Regions from separate parts of the Homo sapiens genome. Here regions 1 and 2 are each linked to region 3. Evidence: promoter capture Hi-C in human tissues and cell types (Jung and others, 2019). All regions are on one chromosome and are shown on one strand. The core of a region is centred on a gene start or on the middle of the fragment in contact, and the rest is flanking DNA. Distances in the headings are between cores, read along the strand shown.

The links. The method cuts DNA at HindIII sites, captures the fragments that hold promoters and counts their contacts. A contact is called where the count stands out against the background at its distance.
Region 1: a contact is called between a fragment that was not itself captured here and the fragment with the promoter of CCDC175 in region 3, in 2 of the 25 tissues and cell types used here (bladder and hippocampus).
Region 2: a fragment that was not itself captured here is called in contact with the fragment with the promoter of CCDC175 in region 3 in 1 of the 25 tissues and cell types used here (H1 embryonic stem cells).

Annotation. Positions count from the first base shown.
Region 1 is chr14:59,630,455-59,634,219 of GRCh38, reverse strand. The region is part of intron 3 of RTN1 (reticulon 1); the gene reads left to right. Among named protein-coding and RNA genes, the nearest start is that of MIR5586, 15 kb to the left of the region's middle. The HindIII fragment of the contact is 3,319 bases long and covers 687-3,765 here.
Region 2 is chr14:59,518,714-59,522,861 of GRCh38, reverse strand. CCDC175 (coiled-coil domain containing 175) reads left to right here. Exons shown (of 20, transcript NM_001164399.2): 17 at 1,186-1,288. Among named protein-coding and RNA genes, the nearest start is that of JKAMP, 36 kb to the right of the region's middle. The HindIII fragment of the contact is 3,554 bases long and covers 1,059-4,148 here.
Region 3 is chr14:59,574,772-59,579,152 of GRCh38, reverse strand. It overlaps CCDC175 (coiled-coil domain containing 175), which reads left to right and starts at 2,341. Exons shown (of 20, transcript NM_001164399.2): 1 at 2,341-2,534; 2 at 4,125-4,210. The coding sequence starts at 2,378. The HindIII fragment of the contact is 13,786 bases long and covers 1-4,381 here.

The DNA.
Region 1 (3,765 bases), core at 1,097-3,596, 55 kb before region 3:
TCCCATATATCTTAATGGCATTCTCCTGCTCCTTTAGGTGTCTGCTCCGGGCCTTTGCTGACCCTCCTTATAAAATAGCAAATTTTCACCTCACCTCCACTCTGTCCTCTTTTATGTGCTTTATTTTTCCCATACACTTGTCTACAAATGAATATTATATATTTACCTTTTTGGTTATTATTTGCCCACACATAAACACCAGCGTATAAAGTAGGAACTCTGCTTTATGCCTAGAACAGTGTCCAGCACACAGCAGGTACTCAATAAATATTTGTTGAATAAATGTATCAATGCAGATGCCACTGATTCCCATCAGTAAAATTCTGGTGCCAGAGGAGACAGACACAATAAAGCCACTCTGGGAATGCTAGCCTTCAATATTAATCTTGACCTGGGATGAGATTACAAAACTTGACTATTTTGCTTTTCCTGAGAACAGACTGCCTAATGCATGATTTAATCCTGAAAAGTAAAGAAATCACTTCCTCTCCTGGCAAGCACCTTAACCAAGTTCTAAGCTGGCTGCAGATAAAGCCCGTCTGTTCTCTACTGGTTTAAAGATAGTGGCAGTTCCTGCCTACTTTTAGCAAGCTTTATTTTGCTTTCTGTTTTCTTTCACCACTTAAGGAAAATTTACATATCTTCTCTACCCATTTTATCGTTTTGATCTTGGCAAGAGCTTTCAATTAATACTGTGTGAGCAGTTGTGCAAAGAAAGCACCCATTTACGATGTTTATGGGAAATAAATTCTTATTATTTCATAATGACAAACACCTAAAGCTTCCATTTATTTGTATTATAATTATGAGAGGTCCAGAGATGATAAATGACTTGCTGAAGGCCATGTAGCTAACTTTTACAATACAGGTGATTCCTAGTTTTCCGTGAATAAGTTCATTTATGTTTCTCTTACCACCTACACATTAAGCTAAAGCCCGCCAATTTTTACTTCACTAGTGTGAATCTGTCTGTGAAATAGCCATCTTACTTCCTCAACCTTCAACTATCAAACTGTTAGAGTGGATTTTTGTGTGCCATCCAACATCTCTCTCCACACTTAGTATGAATGAAAATAATGTGATCTTTCAGCCAAGCTGACATTCCAAGGTCAGCTTTTAGACGGGGTCTCACTATGTCACCCAGGCTGGAGTGCAGTGGTGCGATCACAACTCACTGCAGCCTCGATCTCCCTGGGTTCAAGTGATCTTCCCACTTCAGCCTCCCAAGTAGCTAGGAGTACAGGTGCATGCCACCATGCCCGGAAAAAATTTTTTTTTTGTATTTTTTTTAGAGATGGGGTTTCACCATGTTGCCCAGGCTGGTCTTGAGCTCCTGGCTCAAGTGATCCACTCACCTCGGCCTTCCAAAATGCTAGGATTACAGGAGTGAACCACCGCGCCTGGCCCCAAGGTCAACTTTATGGTCAATGAAAACGCCTGGCCCAGAAAGTCTGACCTAATGTATCCTCCACTTTAAAGAGAGCTTGCTTCTCCCTGTTCCTTATTGGGAACATTGTGTATTCACCATACACACTATACAGACTGTCAGATTGGCAGTACACGCTGTTTCCCGTAATGTGGTGGACACAATACTCATCAGTAAAGGTACCTGCTGGCACCTTCTGGACTTAGGGAATGATAACTGGGGCTATCATTGGACTGGCAGTGCCTCCTAGTGGCCACAGCTCTAAAGATCTCCCTCCAACTGAAAAGCAGCCAGGGCAGCAAAAGCCCACCAGGCAACCCCTGCCTTACCCTCTCCTTTCTTCTCAGTCTTGTCCTCATATCATGCAGTGAGAAGTCGGTGCTGATCAGGCTATCATCATATACCAGTCTTTTCAGTATTTAACTGACAGAATTCCCAAAAATGACGTGGCAATGAAAAAAATTGGGAGGAGGGAGGAAAGGTAGGGAATACAAATAGAAAAAATAATCAAGAATAACCTTAGAGTAGGTCATTGTGAAAAGTGCTTTGTAATAATGTGGTCATTGTTGTTCCTTCCCATCAGCCCTGTGGGAGCTCTGACACCCCATTAAGCTTTATCAAGAATAATTTCAGATATGTTACAAAGATACGCAGAGAGGCCCAGCTGGTTTCTCCACAAGCTTGTATTCTGAAAAGAATACACATGATCCCAAAGATCGTATTTTAAAGTGTATATGCTTCATTAAAATGAAAGATGATAAATCATGTCTACAAGCATAACCTTGAGATTACTGTCCTTAGGCCCATGCTGGTGTGGGGTATGCAAATGTAGATTTTGATCTGGGAAAGAACACCTCTGGCAACTGTAGAAGAATCGGGAAGGCTCCACTTCTCTATGAAAAAGACCCTGTAATGGATAAGGCCATGCCACAAGATGAAGTGGAAAGTTTGTTCCTGCTCCCTCTGAACTCTTCTGTATGCTCCCGTGGTCTCCAGGGCATTCTCTGTCCTCATGCAGTGTCTTGTCTCCTCTAGGGACCCCTTCCAACAGTACCTTCTTTTCCAGACAATGCCCACATTCCAGTCCTTTCTCTTTCCTATTTCTACCTTTTCTTCATCAAAATACATTTATCCCATCCATTCCTTCAGGGTCTTGATGTATGTTCTGATAAAGTAGTTTATGGTAAGATTTAAAAAGCAGGTCACCACCCATTGTTCTGTTCCTTCCTTAGACATTTGCATTTTAACTGTGGACTCCTGACATCCTTAACTACCTGGGCTTGGAAGCCAAAAGTCTTATCTCCCAAATACACACCACCCACCTCCATTGCCCCCCAGTGGTCAATCCCAAAGATGACACTGTTGAGACAGAATGCCCTTTGCTTCCCTGAGTTCTGTTTGAACGTCCCCACAAATGACACCCTTGGATTGTCACTGCATTGACCAATGACTCCACGTACCAGAGTCCAAGGGCTTTGGTCTGGGGTCTACAGGCACCGCATTCTGACATGGATTCCTTCAACCCACAAACAGAGAGGGGTAACCCAAGAAATACACAAGCCCTCTGGGACAGAGCAGTAGGCTTTCTCTCCAGTGATTGTTGCTTGCCAACAAAGGTTTTGGATATCTGTGGAATATTCCAAAAGGAGAGAATCTGGCAATTCTTCAGAAGATTCTGGGCAATTAAAATTCATCGAGTTCAGATTTTTAAGAGTTAGAGGGAGAAGTGAAAGGTAAACGGTGGCAACAATTAGGGAACATTATGCTGCAAGCCTGACATTTATGATGCCGTTGACTTGGTCTTGTCCAGCAGGTTTCTTGGGTTTCTCAGAAATTTCTAGAATATGCACCTCGCATATTCTGGGAGTCAAGAACTCCCAGGAACAGCCCAAGTCCTCCTCCTCTCACCCCCACCGTCAGCCCTTTTTCCCCTCCTCCCAAACCTCCCACCCACTGTCCGCGTCAGCGCCTTCGCGGCCAGAACCGCTTTACCCGTCTCCAGGGTAGCACCCTTGGGCAGCCCAGCCAACGCTGTCGCGTGGAGCGGCGCCCGCATCCCCATGCGCGCAGGCGGCTCCGGGGCCGCGCCGCGCTGATTCGCTGCCGGCCGCGCAGACTGCGGCGCCAGCGACGCTCCCGCCCCTCACCGCGCGCCGCCTGGTGCAGCCTCAGTCTCTCCGCAGCCGCGCGGCCACTGCGAGCCCAGCCGCAGCAGCCGGGCACCAACGCTTGAGTGCACGCTCGGCGCCCCCGAGGAGAGCCACGGCGAGCCCCCAAAGCCCGCACGATGCAGGCCACTGCCGATTCCACCAAGATGGACTGTGTGTGGAGCAACTGGA
Region 2 (4,148 bases), core at 1,586-4,085, 57 kb after region 3:
ACATAGAAACAGATCATTACAATTCAGTATGTTAAGTGCAACAATCTGAACAAGACACATACAGTGCCCCAGAGCAAGGGAACCTTGCCACACCAGGTGAAGAACACAAAGGAGAACTCTCACTGTGTATCATTAATGTAGAGGCAGGATTTACACCTGGGAGATGGATGAGTCTCTTCAGGGACAGTGTGTTAAGTGAGAAGATTAGGGGCTGTGAACAGAATCCTGGAGAAAAACAACTTTGAAGGAGTGAGCTGTGGAGAGGAGATAAAAAGAGAGACTGAAAGAAAATAGAGAGTTTGGGAGAAGCACAAGAGTCCAGCTGAACTAGGAAAGTCTGCAGACCCATGGTCAAAGAGGGGCAAGAATGTGGCCTTGCGGTTGGCTTAAGGTGGCTTTTACTTTTGTTTACTATAATATCAGAAAACAAGCTATGAAAAGGCTGACACAACATCAAAGATACATGAGTAGACCCTATAATACACGCTTAGAAACAGTCTACGTAACAGTCCCATGTCTACCTCATCTGTAGCACTGAACACAATTTCAAAGATTTTTATGGATAGTTTATAGTATTTGTTTCTTTCTTGAAACTGGACCAGTTTTATGTCCCAAAGCCCATATTTCCAGAGTTCCTGGGACTTTAGAGTTTCTGGGCATTGGGTGGTCAGAACAGAAAGCCATGACTGTAATACTCAAAGTCACCTGTCACTACTGCCACCACTGGCACCCAACCCAGTGAACATCTGACTTGAGTAAGTAATTCCATGCAGTCTCCTGACTCAATTAATCATCTCTCTGAGGTCTTACACTGAATGCCAGTCTGGCAGCATTACTGCTTTGTGACATCTACTGTACACACATTTTGCATAAGGAACATTTTTGTTGTGGACATATTGCATTCAGACAGAACACCTTCTAATTTCTTTTGGTGGAAAATTATACTCAGAATGCCATGTTTATTTAAATGCTGAAGTGAAATGCTTCATAGGAAGCAGAATCCTTTATCTCCTTTCCCAGGATGGAATCCTGACCAAGGTATGTTTTATTCCCCACTGTTACCCCTGTACCTAGAATAGTGGGTGGCGCAGAGGAGGAATTTATACATGTTTGCTGAATGACTACATGATAATTTATCTATAGTAACTAAACTGCTAAAAGCAATCACATGCTTTTAATTTTCAGTATATTTTATACTTGAAGAATAACATAGAGAAATACAGAGAAGGACAAGAAGCCCTCATGCACACCTCAAGCGACTTGTCTCGGCAACTAATAGCTCAGGAGGGTAAGTAATGTGTGGGTGCTTGTATTAGTCAGGGTTCTTTAGCGGGACAGAACTAATAGGATATATGTATATATGAAAGGGAGCTTATTAAGGAGAACTGACTCACATGATCACAAGGTAAAGTCCCATGATAGGTCTTCTGCAAGTTGAGGAGCAAGGAATCCAGTGGTGGATCCGTCAGAGTCCCAAAGCCTCACAAGTAGGGAAGCCAACAGTGCAGCCTTCAGTCTGTGGCCAAAGGCCCAAGAGCCCCTGCCAAACCACTGGTGTAAATCCAAGAGTCCAAAAGCTGAAGAACTTGGAGTCCAATGTTCGAGGGCAGGAAGCATCTAGCACAGGAGAAAGAGGAATCTTGGAAGACTCAGCCAGTCTAGCCACGCTGGCAGCTGATTAGACGGTTCCCACCCAGATTGAGAGTGGGTTTGCCTCTCCCAATCCACAGACTCAAATGTGAATCTCCTTTGGTTAACACCCTCATAGACATACCCAGGAACAGTACTTTGCATCTTTCAATCCAGTCAAGTTGACAATATTAACCATTACAGTGTTCTTTACATATAAAGTTTTTACTTCATTTAAATCCAGTTTATTGATTTGCATACAAAAAATGCACCCATTTTCAGGTTAGTGAATTTGACAAATGTACATGCTATTGTAACCACTATCACCACAAGCAAGATATAGAGCATTTTCATGACTACAAAATTTTCTCTGTATCCCTTTGCCGTCGATCACCTACCCCATCTCTAGTTCCTGGAAACCATTGATCTGCTTTCTGTCATTAATAATGAGATATAAATGAAATGACAGGGTGCACACTTTTATACCTGGCTTCTTTCACTCAGCAAATTGTTTTAAGATTCATCTAAGTTGTTGCATGTCTCACTAGTTTGCTCCTTTTTATAGCTGTACAGTAGAATCCCATTGTATAGATATACCATATTTTATTTATTCATTCACCAGTCGAAAGACATTTAGATTATTTCCAGTTTGGGATAATTATGAATGAAGCTATTGTGAACATTTGTTTACAAGTGTTTTTATGGCCATGTTTTCATTTCTCTTGGGTAAATACCTATAATGGAATTGCTGAATTATATAGCAATTAGTGTATGATTAACTTTATAGGAAATATATATGGTTAGTGTATGATTAACTTTATAAGAAACCGCCAGACAAATTTGCCAGAGTGGTTGTTAAGTGTCTCATCCCACTAACAATGGAGAAGAGTTCCCATTGCTCTACATCCTCATCAACACTTAAAATGGTGAAAACGCTTTAAATTGTTAATATTTTGGTCATTTTAATAGGTATGTAATGGCATTTCATTGTGATTGTAACTTGTACTTCTCTAATGAGTAATGTTGTTGAGTATACTTTTTCATGTGTTTCTTGGCCATTTGAATATTATCTTTTGTGACAAATATTGCAAACATGGTAGCTGAAGACAAATTATTTACTTTGCTCACAAAATGGCAATTTGATCAGAGCTCGTTGAAGACAACTAAATGTCTGCTCTGCATGGCATCAGCCAGGGCAACTTGAAGGCTGAGGGTAATTCAACAGCCGGGAACTGAAATCATCTGAAGACTCACTCATTCCTGTGTCTGAAGTTGATGCTGGCCCTCAGCTGGATCTCGAGGGAGGCCATTGGCCAGAACACCTCCTCATGGCCTCTCCATGTAGCAGTTTGGCCTGCTGGGTTCCAAAAGCATCCCAAGAGAACGAAGTGGAAGTTCATGGCGTCTTATGACCTAGCTTCAGTCACAGTGTTATTTTCACAATACGCTAATGGTTGAGGCAGTCACTCAGGTGCAAGGGGAGGGGTCATAGCCACCACCTCTCAATGGAAGAAGTGTCAGCATCATGTCAGGGAAAAAAACTTGTGGAATGGAATATACTGTGGGGATATCTTTGGAAAATACAATCTGTCACATGTCTGTCCAAATCTTTTACTCATTGCTTTGTGTTGTTTTCCTATTATCCAGTTAAAATCTTTACGTTTTCTGGAAATGAGTCCTTTTTCTGTCTGAAGCTTGACTTTTCATTTTCTTCATGGTGTCTCAGAAAGAGTAAACATTTTTTCATTTGAACGAAGCCCATCTATCGATTTTGTCTTTTAAGGTAGTACTTTTTGTTTCCTGCCTAAAACATTTGTGCCTACCCCAGGCTCTTCAATATTTTCTTGTATAATTTTTTTAGTTTCAGTGTTTATGTCTAGATTTCTAATTCATTTCAAGTGAACTTTTTTTTTATTACTATACTTTAAGTTTTACGGTACATGTGCACAATGTGCAGGTTAGTTACATATGTATACATGTGCCATGTTAGTGTGCTGAACCCTGTAACTCATCATTTAACATTAGGTATATCTCCAAATGCTATCCCTCCCTCATAACCCACCGACAACAGGCCCTGGTATGTGATGTTCCCCTTCCTGTGTCCAAGTGTTCTCATTGTTCAATTCCCACCTATGAGTGAGAACATGTGGTGTTTGGTTTTTTGTCCTTGCAATAGTTTGCTGAGAATGATGGTTTCCAGCTCCATCCATGTCCCTACAAAGGACATGAACTCATCATTTTTTATGGCTGCATAGTATTCCATGCTGTATATGTGCCCCATATTCTTAATCCAGTCTATTGTTGTTGGACATTTGGGTTGGTTCCAAGTCTTTGCTATTGTGAATAGTGCCACAATAAACATACATGTGCATGTGTCTTTATAGCAGCATGATTTATAATCCTTTGGGTATATACCCAGTAATGGGATGGCTGGGTCAAATGGTATTTCTAGTTCTAGATCCCTGAGGAATCACCACACTGACTTCCACAATGGTTGAACTAGTTTACAGTCCCACCAA
Region 3 (4,381 bases), core at 1,092-3,591:
TGAGAAAATGAGAGTATTATTTTTCTTTGAATGCTAATGAGGGTAAATGTTCTTTCCGTATGTTTCTCGGAATTTTTTTTCTTTTATTAAGTGATGATTCATGTTGTTTGCCTAGATTTCTATTTCAGAATTTATAAAGTTTCCTTTGAAAAATTGTGGTTGAATTTTGTACAGGGCATCCCATATAAAAGGAACCATGAGACAAGTTAGAAGCTGATCATCTCTCACAAAATATTTAATTTATAAAAATTAAATATTAATTGAATACTGTACGTTTCTTTTTCAACTTGCTTTTCCCACTTTATACATATGTATGTGTATGTACATGTAACTTTCTCACAAAGTTCAGGGAAAAAGAAAGTATTAGAGACATGAAGGGAAATAGAGAAATGTAAGAAAATCTGTAACAAATCCAGTAAGTGGGGAGGACACAAAATGCCCCCTTAAGATTAGCCTTTATTCATAGATAATGGAGAGCAATGTGATCCAAATGATGCGATATGTAAGAAGAGTCTTCTGGTGACAGCTTAAGGGTTGCCTTGAAGTAGTCCAGTCTAGATATTTCCAGAAGAGAGAAGTATATCACAAGGAATTTGTTACAAGGGGTATAGAAGCCAAAGGGTAAGAAGATAAAGAAGACCCCAGACATCAGAGCTGCCATAACACCTGTACTGTACGCACAAGCTCACATATAGTGCTGAGCAGCTGGAGACTGCTGGAGTCACTTGGCTCCTACTCCTGCCACTTCTAGAGCCACCAAAACTGCTGGGACCTACAGTCAACTGTAGCCTGAAACTACCACTTCTGGAGGCAGAAATGCATGATTTCTCGGCCTTCTAATCTCCCTCAAGTGTTTCCCATTAGTGGAACTTACCAAGAAAACAGGTGGCAAGGACATCCAGGAAATTTCATATCCAGTCTTCTTACTCCTGCCACACAGAGGAGGGCCCAGAAGGGCAGGAACAGATTTGAATACCAATAGACCAAATCCAGCAAAAAAGGAGGATGTTGTCCAGGATGGTTTCCAACACCAAAATATGGCACTCCCTGGATGAAGGAGGCCTGGATTCTAGAACTAGTTCTGCTACTGGTATGCTGTGTCCCCTCCAAGGCAGTGTTGCACAGTGGTTTAGGATGTAGCTCAGTGCCCTCACTTGCAAAGCAGGCAATAATACCTAGCTCAAAAGATTATTTGTGAGGGTTAAATGGGGTACTGCAAAGTATTTAAAACAGTGCCTGGAACAAAATAAGCATTTAACAATTGATAGCTATTGTCATTGTTACTATCATTCTAATTTCAATTTTGCCATCTGTAGAGAAAAGAAGAGGAGGGTTGAATCACCTTTGCTTCTCTCTAACCCACCAGAGGAAAAGGAACTGACAGACTCAACCTAAGCCTCATGCTAAGCTGAATTTTGGAGATGCAGAGAAAAATGAATAATATCCTCCTGTCCCCGTCATCACAGAGCTCACAGTTCGATGGGAAGACAGAGAAAAATCACTATGATTCAAGGCAAAATGTGCTCAGTGATGTACTAGATACAAGGAAAGTTCTAAATTAGTACAAAAGAAGGTTTTGTAGCATAGTAGAAAGAGTCATACAGACTTCACTTTATTATTTTATTTTATTATTTTGAGATGGAGTTTAGCTCTTGTCGCCCAGGCTGGAGTGCAATGGCGAGATCTCGGTTCACTATAACCTTTTCCTCCCGGGTTCAAGCGATTGTCCTGCCTCAGCCTCCTGAGTAGCTGGGACTACAGGCACGCGCCACCACGCCCGGCTAATTTTTGTATTTTTAGTAGAGATGGGGTTTCACCATGTTGATTAGGCTGGTTTTGAATTCATGACCACAGGTGATCCTCCCGCCTTGGCCTCCCAAAGTGCTGGGACTACAGGCGTGAGCCACCTCGCCCGGCCCAGACGTCACTTTAAATCCAATATTATCCTCTTGTGGTCTTGAGCCGTTCATTTAGTCGCCCGCGCCTCAGTTTACGTGTCTGTAAAAGTGGAGGTACTAAAAGAGCCTGCTCACAAAGTCCTTGTGAAGATTAAGTGAGCTACTGTATATAAAGGTTCTCCTGCAGTATCCGGCACAAAGATGCGCTCAAAAGTGATCATTATTATGATTCCAGTGGCCCACAAAAAAGATACAGGCCTGAACTAACGCAATGGAAATTGAAAGGGGAAAAATTAGCTAAAGAGAGAGTCATTCTTCCCAGACTGCTTAATTATCGTGGATAAAATTAGAGAACCAGGAGGGTACCTACTAGAGGTGCGGGCCACGAGGGGGCGCCCCACGACCTCGGTGTCCTCGTTGCCCGTGGCAACCGGCAATCCTTGGCTCTGGCTTAGGAGGCGCTCAAGTAGAGCGGCAAAATGGCCCTGAGCCCCTGGACCCCAGGGCTGGGCGCTGGCGAGAAGCTGGTGCAGGCGGCTGCCGTCTCCACTGGCCCCTCCCTGGAGTTATGCACCTTACCCTCCACCCTGGGCTCCTCGGTCGCGGTCGAGGCGCTGGAGCAGCTGTTTGTTGTGGGTAAGACGCCCCTCGGGCGCTGGAAGGGACGTCTCCTCAGAGGTGGCGCTTAGGAGGCACTCAGCGGGAACCCTGAGCGGGGACTCTCCTCCCGGAACCAGGGCATCACTGGGCAGGGCAGAGCCTTCTCCCCGCTCCTTGGAGGCTGGGGAGAGAGAGGTGGCGGGTGGGACCAAGTGCCCAGATCTCCTGCCCTAGCGCAGCTGAGGTGACTTCGCTCAACCCTCAGTAGTAGTTAAATTACTGAGGTGACAAATCCGGGACTCCCAAGCCACTGCCCTATGCCTGCGACCTGATTACACACCTGCATTTAGATTATGCCTTCGATTTCAGTTCTCTTCTTGCCGTTCCTTTACAAGTTAACTTCCTCCGACATTTTGCCGTGGCAAACTGGAGAATTTAACAAGCAAATAGGAAAGGGAGTGTTTAAGAGGCTTCTGTTGTGTTGAGCAAGAAAAATTAGATGTAAAGGGTTGTTTAGGAGATTCTAATAGAAAATGACCTTGGATAGGGCCAGGTTAAAGTATTTTTCAGTTAGAAAGCTGAACCTGTAATCAAGTCACTTAAGCTTAAGGTAAGACAATCCAAGAAAGGGTGTTTCTTGTTCGGTGCAAAAACCGTTTAGGCCAAACAACAAAACATTTCAGTGCTTCACTAGAATCATCCCATTTCTTCAAGATAATCGTATTGATTTATGTTACAATGTTACTATTAATTTGGGATAGTTTTTATTTTCCTTCTTAAATGCGCTAGGTTAATTTCACAATTCTTAGCAAATATGCTTGGGTAAATGTTATCATGAAGAATGTTGGCCGGGCGCGGTGGCTCATGTCTGTAATCCCAGCACTTTGGGAGGCCGAGGCGGGTGGATACCTGAGGTCAGGAGTTTGAGACCAGCCTGGCCAACATGGTGAAACCCCGTCTCTACTAAAAATACAAAAATTAGCCGGGCGTGGTGACGCACGTCTGTAATCCCAGCTACTCGGGAGGCTGAGGCAGGAGAATCCGTTGAACTCAGAAGGCAGAGGTTGTGGTGAGCCGAGATGGTGCCACTGCACTCCAGCCTGCGCGACAGAGCGAGACTCCGTCTCAAAAAAAAAAAAAAAAAAAAAAGGAATGTTACCCACTGAGGAGACCTAAAGTTATTAAGACCTAAATTATTCACATGTATCTGAGGTCACTGTCAATGACAGACCTAGAACCTTGAACTCTTTTCATACTTGATCTCTAGATCGGCATGCCAATGCAACCCTAGTACTTATGTACAAATACATTTTTCTGTTAATGTCTAGACACTCAGAACATATTTCATAGGAAAAAAAAATCATTACACCCTCTTGCCCTGAGTTATAAAATATTAATATGTAAATCTCCAGCACATTTGTCCTCAAGGAGCATAAAATATATACCTAAATTATAACATTATGGAATAGGAAATAAGTACAAAAGAGATTAGTGTAATGTACAATAAAAATTCAGAGACTGAAGATGTAACTTCCAGCCGAGTAAGCATTTGAGCTAGATCATAAAAGGTTAAGTAGGATTTGGATAGATAAATAAGAGATCTTTATTTTCTAATTTTTTTTTCAGAACAATCACTGCAAAGTGACTATTTTAAATGTAATGAAGAAGCTAAGATCTTTCTTAAGGACATTGCTGTAGCTGTTAAGAAATTGGTATTGTATTATCTATAAGAACCATTTCTTCAATCTTCCACATATTTCTTCAAACTTTCATTTCGCACCAATTCTGTTCAAAGTATTAAGTAGATGACTAGGGAATATAGTTACCCTGAACTTAAAAATATTTTTCTCTCAATTTTGTAAGGATTTGCACAATTATTGATC